3 separate regions of the Homo sapiens genome follow, and all the other regions are linked to region 1. The links are contacts of gene promoters, found by promoter capture Hi-C in human tissues and cell types (Jung and others, 2019). All regions are on one chromosome and are shown on one strand. The core of a region is centred on a gene start or on the middle of the fragment in contact, and the rest is flanking DNA. Distances in the headings are between cores, read along the strand shown.

Evidence for each region. Contacts are between HindIII fragments. The study calls those that stand out against the background at their distance.
Region 2: a fragment that was not itself captured here is called in contact with the fragment with the promoter of LPIN2 in region 1 in 2 of the 25 tissues and cell types used here (IMR-90 fibroblasts and mesenchymal stem cells).
Region 3: a contact is called between a fragment that was not itself captured here and the fragment with the promoter of LPIN2 in region 1, in 1 of the 25 tissues and cell types used here (thymus).

What each region holds. Positions count from the first base shown.
Region 1 is chr18:3,010,638-3,015,055 of GRCh38, forward strand. LPIN2 (lipin 2) reads right to left here and starts at 2,507. Exons shown (of 20, transcript NM_001375808.2): 1 at 2,450-2,507. RefSeq lists a silencer at 1,948-2,897. The HindIII fragment of the contact is 11,400 bases long and covers 1-4,418 here.
Region 2 is chr18:3,696,902-3,701,319 of GRCh38, forward strand. The region is part of intron 7 of DLGAP1 (DLG associated protein 1); the gene reads right to left. Among named protein-coding and RNA genes, the nearest start is that of DLGAP1-AS6, 46 kb to the left of the region's middle. The HindIII fragment of the contact is 3,729 bases long and covers 607-4,335 here.
Region 3 is chr18:3,615,566-3,619,983 of GRCh38, forward strand. All of the region lies in intron 7 of DLGAP1 (DLG associated protein 1), which reads right to left. Among named protein-coding and RNA genes, the nearest start is that of DLGAP1-AS2, 14 kb to the left of the region's middle. The HindIII fragment of the contact is 4,989 bases long and covers 1-4,418 here.

The DNA of each region.
Region 1 (4,418 bases), core at 1,257-3,756:
AAGATGGAAAGACTTAAATCAGACTTAAAGAAAAGCCTCTTGATGTAAATTGCTAAGCACCTACGGGAGATAACCAAATCTACCTGTTACCACTAATCTATCAACTAACAAGACAAAGCCTCCAGCTAGGCGTTACTGTGCTGATATATATTAGGAAATAAGTACCCAAGGCATAGAAAAATCGCTGACACAGAGAACCAAGCCATAATGTAATATTAATAAAAGTAAACATTTGACCCTTTACCACCTCTAACACGTGGCACCACCAGGAATATTCATCCATGCCTCACCATTCAGGGAAGGTAAGTGAGCTCACTCAGGAAGTGCCACCGTCTTCCAGGTCACTGGTAAGGACAAACTGCCTGCTGCGTCTACCTTCATTCAACAGACCTCGACCGAATCGCATCCCAAAGCCGGCTATGTGCTTGGAACTTACTGAGCAGCTATGGAGTTTGGCTTTCAGGAACTCTGGGTCCAGTCCTTAAAACCAAAAGTGCAATACAGGGCGATGAGAACTTCTATTGCTACATTCTCCTAGCAATAAAGAAGACAAAGCCCCAGCTGACTCTATTATTTGCTTCTTAACAGTGCTTTACTATAGTATTAAAGGGTTTTCAAACACTTCATTTCCAGCTTCTCTTAAGCATAATGCGTGCCTATTGACTCTCGACTGTGCCATCAAACGTTAAAACAGAACCTGTCGTTTCATTTCTAGCTTTCTATGGCTACCTCTATCAAAAGTTGGGCATGGAGATACCTTAAGTCTGGCTGGGGCGGTTGCTCACGCCTGTAATCCCAGCTCTTTGGGAGGCCGAGGGGGGCGGATCACCTGAGGTCGGCAGTTCGAGACCAGCCTGGCCAACATGGTGAAACCCCCGGTCTCTAATAAAAATACAAAAATTAGCTGAGTGTGGTGGCTCATGCCTGTAATCCCAGCTACTCGGGAGGCTGGGGCACAAGAATCGCTTTAACAGAGGAGGCAGAGATTGCAGTGATCGGAGATCGCGCAACTACACTCCAGCCTGGGCGACAGAGTGAGACTCTGTCTCGAAATAAAAGAGATACTTCAGTCTGACATACCACAATCAACTACAATGTAATTGGAGGGAAGAGCCGATGTTGGACGGCTATCACACGTGGCTTCACACTGTTCTTTTTCTTCTCTGGCTGGGTACGGCCTGAGGATGACTGCCCTCCAACAACTGAGGATGCTGCAGGAGGACCAGCCCAGCACCTGTCTCCATCCCCTGCACTGTGTGGCCGGCTCTGCCGCTTCTCCCCCGCTTCAGCATCACCTGCCACTTCTTCTCAATCTGAAGCCACTAAGAACGATCAACACCAGACCGTTAAAACATAAACCAGTATGGGCCACTAAATAATTCGTAAATATTTCAAAATGTATTTCAAAACCGACTTTGTATTGTCAAAACATTATAATCTAGCCAGGCCAAGTTTTAATAAACAGTAACACCCATCATCACTACTGGGTAAAGAACTTCATTCAACAGGACCTACCTTGACACCAAGTCTAGAGCCTCGTTTTCAATTAAAAAAAAAATGGGTAAGCCCCAAATGTGCATTAAAAATTAGTTTGGCCATTTACTAAGTAGTCCTTCAAAGCATTTCCAAGTATTCAGAGTTCCAGTACTTTTCGGAAAGGAAGGGTGATCTTTCTGGTACTGGTTTGCATAATTATGCCTAAAAAATGTCATCTTGAATTTTCAATGAAAAGAGTCTTAAAATGTTCAGGCGAGTGGAGAAAATGGTGATCCGCTGGCGTTAGAAGTGGACAGAGAGGCTCTCAGTACAAACTGTATCTGAACGTGTTCCTCACAAATTAAGATCTGCACCGGGGGCTGGGGGGCTTTGAGAAAACTAACCACATTTGAATCCGGTCCACACAGCTTGAAGGCGGAGGTACGGGGCAAAGCGCGGCGGGGAAGAAACACCAGCAACTCGGCGGCCCCCGCCTCGCCGCAGATCACGTGCCCGGCGCCCCCTCCCGCAGGGCCGGGGGCGGGATGGAGACGCGGCCTCCCGCGCGCCTTCCGCACTCCCCTCCGCGCCCCAAACCCAGGGGTAGGGGTGGTCTCGGGTAACCATCCCCAGGGCGGCGGCGAGGGAACTGCGCGGGTTCAGAGTCCTCAGCAGCCACCACTGACGCCCCGACGCCCCCGGCTCCCCGCGCACCCCGCCGGTCCGTCCTGCGGCGGCGGCGGTAGGGGCCGCGTCTACGTGGCGCGGTCGCGGCGAGGCGGGGACTGGGACGCGAGGACCGGGAAGCGGGGACCGCGGCGCGAGGAGGGGCGGCTCAACCCGCGCCGCCCCGGAGGGTCCCGGCCTCCGGCAGGACAGCCCCGGGCCCGCGCCAAGGGAAGCCCCCAGGCGCAGACACTCACCGCCAGCCCCGGAGGGACGCCTGCGAGGAGCCCGGCCCGCGCCCACTTACCCACAGGGGCTCCGCTCCCGGCCAGCGGGCGGCTGAGGGCAGGCGGCGGCTGGACTGCGACGGCTAGGACCCGCCGGGGAGGGAAGCCGAGGGGGCGGGGCCGGTCGGGGGCGCGCGCGGGGTCGGAGCGCCCGCAGCCGCCGCTGCCTTGGAAGCCGCCTGGGCCGCAGCTGAGTCGGGCGGCCCTCATGAATGGGACGCCGCGGCTGCGGCGGCCGAGCCGGCAGCTGGCGGGCGGGCAGCGCGCAGGCCCCGCCCCAGCCACGTGACGCGCGCTCCCGGCCGCGCGCCGCGCCCCCGCCGCCGAGCGCCAGGCGTGCGGCTTCTCACCGCTCCCAGTCCCTGGGCTGCGCGCCCGGGCCCCTGGCCAAGTGAGGGCGGGGCCTCGATTTTCTAGTGCCTCGGGCGACAGGAGCCTTACTTTGTTTTAAAAAAAAAAAGTTTCTTCCGGTCCCCATGGCAACCCTGCGGCAGGTCACGTGGGACTGAGAGCCCAATTGCCAAAAAGGAATGTTAAAGTGCAAAAAAAGTCTAGGGAATGAATGTTTTATAATCCCCTTTTGATCACTAGTAGCACATCTCCTTTGCTTACTTACATCTCCACCGAAAAAAAAAAAATCCTATTACACAACTCATTTTTAAAAATATGCCGGGGTTCTGTTGTTTTTTGTTTATTCTTTTTATCGCTCTGTTACCCCGGCTGGTCTCCAACTCCTGGGCTCAAGCATCCCCGCACCTCGGCCTCCCAAAGTACTGGAATTACAGGCATGAGCCACCGTCCCCAGCATTAAAATATACTTTTTAAGAAATGGGTGGCTCACGCCTGTAATCCTAGCACTTTGGAAGGCCGAGGCAGGCGGATCACTTGAGGTCAGGAGTTCAAGACCAGCCTGGCCAACATGGTGAAACCCCCGTCTCTACTAAAAATACAAAAAACCAGCCGGGCGTGGTGGCGCGTGCCTGTAATCCCAGCTTCTCAGGAGGCTGAGGCAGGAGAATCAGTTGAACCCGGGAGGCGGAGATTGCAGTGAGCCGAGATGGCGCTATTGCACTCCAGCCTGGCGACAGAGAGACTCCGTCTCAGAAAGAAAAGAAATGGGGCCCGGCGCGGTGGCTCACGCCGGTAATCCCAGCACTTTGGGAGGCCAAGGCGGGTCGATCGCCTGAGGTCAGGAGTTGGAGACTAGCCTGGCCAACGTGGCAAAACCCCGCCTCTACTAAAAATACAAAAATTAGCCGGGCATGTTGGCTGCAATCCCAGCTACTTAGGAGGCAGAGGCGGTAGAATCACTTGAACCCGGGGGGCGGAGGTTGCAGTGAGCAGAGATTGCGCCACTTCACTCCAGCCTGGGAGCGAAACTCTGTCTCAAAAAAAAAAAAAACAAAAAAAACTGGATTGCTGGTGCTATATACTATTGGTGCACACTGGTTTTTAATTTGCAGCCTATTCTATTACTATTCTATGATTGAAAGTAATGAACAGAAGCCTATGTTACTTCTATATAAATGGCAGTTAATTTATGAGGTGCATCTTGTGTGTGATCATTTATACAGTTCTAAGGGTACTGAAATAGGCATTTGCATACACAAAGCTGCTCCTTGAAGGATCCAGCTGCAGCCCAGTTTCTTCCCACCAGTGCCTGGTGTAGCTGGGCAGTGCTTGGATTCAGGGAGCAGGCGACCACTTCTTCACTGAAGTTCCTTCTGCTTTTCTGTGAAACTCGATCAAGTTTTGCCCCATCTGTAATCAAGGCCCTACAGAAACATAGGTAGTTTCACTGGCACAAGACCACTAGGAATTTTCCTCATTTCACTGCTTCTCACTTGGCTTCACAAGTAAAATAAAAATTGAAGAGGACTAAAATATCCCCCTCCGTATTCAATGGATTTTATAAATATGGAGAAGAAAAATTAAAGCTAGAGAAAGAATTTAATCCTCAGTTTCTACGTCAGTAAAATAAAGATAGTA
Region 2 (4,418 bases), core at 1,221-3,720, 690 kb after region 1:
ACTTTTTCCTGGTTTAGTCTTGGGAGGATGTATGTGTCTAGGAATTTATCAGTTTCTTCTAGATTTTCTAGTTTATTTGCGTAGAGGTGTTTATAGTATTCTCTCATGGTAGTTTGTATTTCTGTGGAATCAGTGGTGAGATCCCCTTTATCATTTTTTATTGTGTCTATTTGATTCTTCTGTCTTTCTTCTTTATTAGTCTGGCTAGTGGTCTATTTTGTTAATCTTTTCAAAAAACCAGCTCCTGGATTCATTGATTTTTTTTTGAAGGGTTTTTTGTGTCTCTATCTCCTTCAGTTCTGCTCTGATCTATTTCTTGTCTTCTGCTAGCTTTTGCATTTGTTTGCTCTTGCTTCTTTAGTTCTTTTAATTGTGATGTTAGGGTGTTGATTTTACGTCTTTCCCGCATTCTCCTCTGGGCATTTAGTGCTATAAATTTCCCTCTAAACACTTCTTTAGCTGTGTCCCAGAGATTCTGGTACGTTGTGTCTTTGTTCTCATTGGCTTCAAATAACTTATTTATTTCTTCCTTAATTTCATTATTTACCCAGTAGTCATTCAGGAGCAGGTTGTTCAGTTTCCATGTAGTCTTGTGGTTTTGAGTGAGTTTCTTAATCCTGAGTTCTAATTTGATTGCACTGTGCTCTAAGAGACTGTTATGATTTCTGTTATTTTGCATTTGCTGAGGAGTGTTTTACTTTCGATTATGTGGTCAATTTTAGAATAAGTGTGATGTGTTGCTGAGAAGAATGTATATTCTGTTGATTCAGAGTGGGAGAGTTCCGTAGATGTCTATTAGGTCCACTTGGTCCTAATAGACCAAGTCCTGAATTTCCTTGTTAATTTTCTGTCTCATTGATCTGTCTAATATTGACAGAGGGGTGTTTAAGTCTCCCACTATTATTGTGTGGAAGCCTAAGTCTCTTTGTAGGTCTCTAAGAACTTGCTTTATGAATCTGGGTGCTCCTATATTAGATGCATATATATTTAGGATAGTTAGCTCTTCTTGTTGCATTGACTCCTTAACCATTATGTAATGCCCTTCTTAGTCTTTTTTGATCTTTATTGGCTTAAAGTCTGTTTTATCAGAGACTAGGATTGCAACTCCTGCTTTTTTCTTGCTTTCCATTTGCTTGGTAAATATTCCTCCATCCCTTTATTTTGAGCCTATGTGTGTCTTTGCACATGAGTTTGGTCTCCTGAATACAGCACACCGCTGGGCCTTGACTCTTTATCCAATTTGCCACTCTGTGTCTTTTAATTGGGGCATTTAGCCTGTTCAAATTTAAGGTTAATACTGTTTGTGTGAATTTGATCCTGTCATTATGATGTTTCCTGGTTATTTTGCCCATTAGTTGAAGCAGTTTCTTCATAGTGTCAATGGTCTTTACAATTTGATATGTTTCTGCAGTGGCTGGTACTGGTTTTTCCTTTCCATCTTTAGTGCTTCCTCCAGGAGCTCTTGTAAGGCAGGCCTGGTGGTGACAAAAATCTCTCAGCATTTGCTTGTCTGTAAAGGATTTTATTTCTTCTTCACTTAAGAAGCTTAGTTTGGCTGGATATGAAATTCTGGGTTGAAAATTCCTTTCTTTAAGAATGTTGAATATTAGCCTCCACTGTCTTCTGGCTTGTAGGGTTTCTGCAGAGAGATCTGCTGTTAGTCTGATGGGCTTCCCTTTGTGGGTAACCCGACCTTTCTCTCTGATGATTATGTGTCTTGGGGTTGCTCTTCTTGAGGAGTATCTTTGTAGTGTTCTCTGTATTTCCTGAATTTGAATGTTGGCCTGTCTTGCTAGGTTAGGGAAGTTCTCCTGGGTAATATCCTGAAGAACGTTTTCCAACTTGGTTCCTTTCTCCCCATCACTTTCAGGTACACCAATCAAACATAAGTTTGGTCTTTTCACATAGTCCCATATTTCTTGGAGGCTTTGTTCATTCCTTTTCATTCTTTCTTCTCTAATCTTGTCTTCATGCTTTATTTCATTAAGTTGATCTTCAATCTCTGATATCCTTTCTTCCGCTTGATCGATTTGGCTATTGATACTTGTGTATGCTTCACGAAGTCCTCGTGCTGTGTTTCTCAGCTACATCAGGTCATTTATGTTCTTCTCTAATCTGGTTATTCTAGCTATCAATTCCTCTAACCTTTTTTCAAGGTTCTTAGCTTCCTTGCATTGGGTTAGAACACGCTCCTTTTGCTCGGAGGAGTTTGTTATTACCCAACTTCTGAAGCCTACTTCCATCAATTCGTCAAACTCATTCTCCATCCAGTTTTGTTCCCTTGCTGGCGAGGAGTTGTGATCCTTTGGAGGAGAAGAGGCATTCTGGTTTTCGGAATTTTCAGCCTTTTTGCACTGGTTTTTCCTCATCTTCGTGGATTTATCTACCTTTGGTCTTTGATGTTGGTGACTTTCAGATGGGGTTTTTGTGTGGATGTCCTTTTTGTTGATGTTGATGCTATTCCTTTCTGTTTGTTAGTTTTCCTTCTAACCTGCCCTCTGCTGTAGGTCTGCTGGAGTTTTCTGGAGGTCCGCTCCAGATCCTGTTGCCTGGGTATCACCAGCGGAGGCTGCAGAACAGCAAAGATTGCTGTTCTTTCCTCTGGAAGCTTCATCCCAGAGGGGCATCTGCCAGATGACAGCCAGAGCTCTCCTGTATGTGGTGTCTGTTGACTCCTGCTGGGAGGTATCTCCCAGTCAGGAGGCATGGGGGTCAGGGACCCACTTGAGGAAGCAGAGTGTCCCTTAGCAGAGCTTGAGCACTGTGCTGGGAGATCCACTGCTCTCTTCAGAGCTGTCAGACAGAAACGTTTAAGCCTGCTGAAGCTGTCTCCATAGCTGCCCCTTCCCCCAGGTGCTCTGTCCCAGGGAGATGGGAGTTTTACTTATAGGCCCCTGACTGGGGCTGCTGCGTTTCTTTCAGAGATGCCCTGCCCAGAGAGGAGGAAGCTAGAGAGGCAGTCTGGCTACAGTGGCTTTGCTGAGCTGCGGTTCAAACTTCCCCATGGCTTTGTTTACACTGTGAAGGGAAAACTGCCTACTCAAGCCTCAGCAATGGTGGACGCCCCGCCCCTGACCAAGCTCAAGCGTCCCAGGTGGACTTCAGGCTGCTGTTCTGGCAATGAGAATTTCAAGCCAGTGGATCTTAGCTTGCTAGGCTCTCTGGGGGTGGGATCCGCTGAGCTAGACCACTTGGCTCCCTGGCTTCAGCCCCCTTTCCAGGGTAGTGAAAGATTCTGTCTCGCTGGTGTTCCAGGCACCACTGGGGTATGAAAAAACTCCCGCAGCTAGCTAGGTGTCTGTCTAAATAGCCACCCAGTTTTTGTGCTTGAAACCCAGGGCCCTGGTGGTGTAGGCACCCAAGGGAATCTCCTGGTTTGCGGGCTGTGAAGACCATGGGAAAAGCATAGTATCTGAGCCGGAACGCACTGTTCCTCACAGCACAGTCCCTCAAGGCTTCCTTCGGCTAGGGGAGGAAGTTCCTCAACCCCTTGTGCTTCCCGAGTAAGGCAAAACCCCACCCTGCTTCAGCTCGCCCTCTGTGGGCTATACCCACTATCTAACCAGTCCCAGTGAGATGGGCCGTGTACCTCAGCTGGAAATGCAGAAATCACCTGCCTTCTGTGTTGATCTCACTGGGAGCTGCAGACTGGAGCTGTTCCTATTCAGCCATCTTGCCAGCCACCTAGCATTTTATTTTATTTTTTTAAAATTTTAATTGTTTTTTGAGACAGAGTCTCTGTCTGTTGCCCAGGCTGGAGTGCAGTGGTGTGATCTCAGCTCACTGCAAGCTCTACCTCCCAGGTTCACGCCATTCTCCTGCCTCAGCCTCCCGAGTAGCTGGGACTACAGGCGCCCACCACCACGCCCGGCTAATTTTTTGTACTTTTGGTAAAGACGGGGTTTCACCGTTTTAGCCAGGATGGTCTCTGTCTCTTGACCTCATGATCCGCCCACCTCGGCCTCCCAAAATGGTGGAATTACAGGGGTGAGCCATCACGCCCAGCCGACTTTGTTGCCCAGGCTGGAATGCAGTAGTGGGATCATAGCTTACTGCAGCCTTGACCTCCTGGGCTTACGTGATCCTCCTGCTTCAGCCTCCTTAGTAGCTAGGACTACAGGAGTGCACTCTGCCATACCAGGCTAAGTTTTAAATTTTTTGTTGAGGTGGGGTTGTGCTATGTTACCCAGGCTGGTCTTGAATTCCTGGCTCAAATGATCTTCCAGGCTCGGCCTCCCAAAGTGCTGGGACTATAGGTGTGACCCACAGCACCTGGCCTGATGATGGCTTTTTAAGTGTACTAATGATCTCATCAGAGGAGCCAAATGCCACATGACTCAAGAAGAAAGAACCAAACAGTCCGGATCCAGGGTGAAAGCCTTCTTCAGCTATTCTTCATTCTGTAGTGTCTATGTGTG
Region 3 (4,418 bases), core at 1,151-3,650, 600 kb after region 1:
GCAAGTCTGGCCAGTAGGAAAATGGAGCCGATGGAGATGGGGGAGGCCAAGAAAGCTGCATTTTTCATTGCTTTGTCTGAAGCAGTGAGCCCTGGGCACACTTGTGCAGTAGCTAAAATTTCTCAAGTCTGTCTCTGTAGGCAACTGGAGACACCCTGACAGCCTGTTTCCCCCAACTGGCTCCAGCCCAAATTAACTCACTCTCTCATTCCCTGAGACACTTGCCTTTGAGAGGTAAAAATTTAGCTAGTTTGATAAGAGAATGCATTTTAGGTGGGGAGGGGGCATTTTAGCAGGAATTTTTGCAAACATTTCTTCCCTCAAGGGTAAGAAATGTGTATTTTAAAAGGGAGGTTTCTATAAAGTTGGCCTTAACTCCGAGGGATATTTAAAGTGGGGAATTTCTGGCACTGCTAACAGACCCATAGTGCAGCTAAGACCTTTCTGTGGCTCTCAAATCATAATGAAGCCCAGGAAGGAGAAATGAAATTGTATACTTTGCCTGTCACAGGCATAGAGTTCTGCTGAGTAATTTGTACGTGGGATTATTATTCCATTTCACAGATTTAGAGGTGCAGCTAAAGTTGACAGGCTGGTAACCAGCCCTCGGGAGACTGCATTTTCCAAAAGTGGCTGCAACAATATCTTCCATCTGACATGTCCTTCTAGAACAGGTGTTCACAAACTTTTTCTGTTAAAAGCCATCCAGCACGTATTTTAGGATGTGTGGATCATTCGCTGTCTGACCTGACTACTCTATCACTGTGGCACAGCCCTGGGCGATGTGTACATGTACAGCCTTGTTTGTGTTTGAGAGGTGAGCCCATTCGGTGGTCTGAGGGCGATAGTTTGCCAATCTGTGCTCTAGAACTTTGCTGCTTCCCTTCAAGAGGTAGAGTCTAGGCCAGGTGCAGTGGCTCACACCTATAATCCCAGCACTTTGGGAGGCTGAGGTGGGAGGATCCCTTGAGCCCAGGAGTTTGAGACCAGCCTGGGAAACATGGTGAAACCCCATCTCCACAAAACAAAAAAAAAAAAAATTAGCCTGCTGTGGTGGCGTGCACCTGTAGTCCCAGCTACTCCAGAGGCTGAGGTTGGAGGATCACTTGAGCCCAGAAGGTCGAGGCTGCAGTGAGCCGTGATTGTGCCACTTAAACCACCCTAGGCGGCAGAGGGAGACCCTGTCTCAAAAAAACAAAAAGAAACAAACAAACTGGAAAAAAAAAAGAGGTGGACGAATTCCCTTTTCCTTGAATCCGAGAGGTTTGTGATTTGCCTATAATTAAGACAATTGGAAGGAAGTGACACTGCATGACCTCTGAGGCTAGATCAGAACAGGTGATGTAACTTTTACCAGTCAGCACATAAGTAGCCCAGCTGTCCTGAGGCTGCCATGCTGTAAGGAAGCCCAAGTGAGTCCATGTGAAAGACCACCTGAAAAGCCTTGAAACTGTAGGAGATGCTCAGCCAGCCCCACTTGCTCCAGCCCTCACCTGGAGAGACTGCAAGCTCAGGAGAGATGCTGAGCCAGAACTACCCCGCCAAAGCTCTCCCCAAATTCCTGACCCCCAGAGACTGAGAAGTGATGAGATGATTGCTTTAAGACATTAAGTTTTGGGGGTGATCCGTTGCATAGAAAGAAACAGAACATTTTCCCCAAACTAGTGAGTGGCAGAGATGGGATTCAAACTGAGGCTGGCCTGAGCCCAATCACCTGATCTTTCTATTAAAAATAAACAAAAAATACTGCTGGCTGGGGGCAGTGGCTTACACCTGTAATCCCGGCACTCTGGGAGGCCAAGGCAGGTGGATCACCTGAGGTCAGAAGTTCAAGACTAGCTTGACCAACATGGTGAAACCCCATCTCTAGTAAAAATATAAAAAATTAGCTGGGCGTGGTGGTGGGCGCCTGTAATCCCAGCTACTTGGGAGGCTGAGGCAGAAGAATCCGGGAGGTGGAGGTTGCAGTGAGCTGAGATCCCACCATTGCACTTCAGCCTGGGCAACACGAGTGAAACTCCATCTCAAAAAAAAAAAAAAAATTGTTGAAAACTGCTGACACAGAGACATGAAGTGAGCACATGCTGTTGGAAAAATGGTGTTGATAGACTTGCTCCATGCATGGTTGCCACAAACCCTTGATTTGTGAAAAACACATCTGCAAGGCCTGATAAAGAAAAGTGTAATTGCCGGGCATGGTGGCTCACTCCTGTAATCCCAGCACTTTGGGAGGCCAAGGCGGGTGGATCACCTGAGCTCAGGAGATCGAGACCAGCCTGGGCAACATGGTGAAACCCCATCACTACTAAAAATACAAAAAAATTAGCTGGGCGTGGTGGCAGGCGCCTGTAATCCCAGCTACTCAGGAGATTGAGGTAGGAGAATTGTTTGAACCCGGGAGGCGGAGGTTGCTGTGAGCCAAGATCGTGCCATTGCCCTCCAGCCTGGGTGACAAAAGTGAAACTCCATCTCAAAAGAAAGAAAGAAAGAAAGAAAAGCACAATTAAACAATGTGTGCCTGTATTTAAACCTATATTGGCTAGTGAGTTTGACCAGAGTCTAACAAAGGTTTATCAAGGAAAAATGTCAGAGAATTCAGATCCTGTAAGTCAAAGACACAACCTGTTCCAGGAAGGACTTTGCAACAGCAATTACTCTAACAAGTTACAATTCGCAGAGTCCGGCCTTTAAGGGGCTTTGAAGAGAGAGAAACCCATGAATCAATAATAAGATAAGGCTATTTGGTTTGTTTCAACTTGCGGGCTGTTTGACTTCCGTATCAAAGCCATGCCTTGAGAATGAAATCATTTCTGTCAAACAGCCCTTTCAAAGAACATCCGACACAAACACTCACTGGCTGCTCCTTTATTTCCACTGTGTCCAGGGTGTGTATGGACTTGGTGGAATTTAGGGGAATAGCTGTGAATTGTGCATCAAATAAATAACCTGCAGGGAGTTGGCACTGGTGACTGCTAGCCATAAATGTTGCTATTTGCTTACACAGGTTAAGCCTGGGCTTTTGGAGGCTTCTTTGACCTTTTCTGCCTTTTTCCCAACCCTAACCCAACATAGCTATGACAAGGCAGTTCTGGGCCGGGCAGGGTGGCTCACGCCTGTAATCCCAGCACTTTGGGAGGCCGAGACGAGCGGATCAGGAGGTCAGGAGACCGAGACCATCCTGGCTAACACGGTGAAACCCCGTCTCTACTAAAAATACAAAAAAATTAGCCGGGTGAAGTGGCGGGTGCCTGTAGTCCCAGCTACTCGGGATGCTGAGGCAGGAGAATGGTGTGAACCTGGGAAGCGGAGCTGGCAGTGAGCCGAGATCGTGTCACTGCACTCCAGCCTGGGTGACTGAGCGAGACTCCGTCTCAAAAAAAAAAAAAAGAGATGATTAAGTTAATTGGGTCATTAGGGTCATAATCCAATATGACTGGCGTCCTTCTAAGAAGAGAGACAGCAGGACCTACGTGCATAGACCAAGTGAGGACAGAGAGAGGCCAGCCACCCGCAAGCCACAGAGAGAGGCCTCAGAAGAAACCACCTTGCTGATACCTTGATCTTGGTCTCCCAGCTTCCAGAACTGTGAGGAAATAAGCTTCTGTTGTTTAAGGCACCCCATCTATGGTACTTAGTTATGGCAGCCCTAGCAAACTAACATACCCACAAACAGAGAATTCACAGCCTTAAGGCTGGGACTTCAGAAAAATTCCAAAGGTAATAAGCAGAAATTTCAACATGCAAGAGTCTAGCCTTTTAGCGCAGTTTCTCTTTCTGCATCTTTCCCAGGTGGCCTGCAGGCAGGATGGTAAAGCAGTGCTGGGGGCTGGGCAGGGGCGCTGCTGACCTGCAAGTCTAGTGGGGTCACTAAGGTCTCTTGACTCAAAAGGGAAGGGACCAGGGTTCCAGTCCTAGAAAGTCCAGAAAGTAGCAGGGAGACTGAGTAGGTGTTTGGTGCATGGTCAAGAGGCCCATATTGATGCAAGTCACTAACCCCTTCCCTCTTCTAGCCGCCCTAGTCCTTCCTTCTCTCCTCTTCTTCCAGTCTCTTTGACTTTTCCCACCACCCCGTCCTGCGACACTGCTTTATTATCAGGTAAGTCAGAAGAAGGGGAAAATTTGGCTTTACCTTCTGACTTAGCGTCATGCAAATCCTGATGCTCTTTTAGTTTTTTCCTTTTTTTTTTTTTTTTTTGGTGGGAGATATGGGATGGAAGGATATTTGCCGGAGTTGGTTTTTTTTTGTTTTTTGTTTTTTGAGATGAGGTCTTGCTATGCTGCCGAGGCTTAAGTGCAGTGGCTACTCATAGACCCCATCATTGCGCACTACAGCCTTGACCTCCTAGGCTCAAGGGATCCTCCCACCTCAGCCTCCTAAGTAGCCGGAACTATAGGTGCATGCCACCATGCCTGGCCAC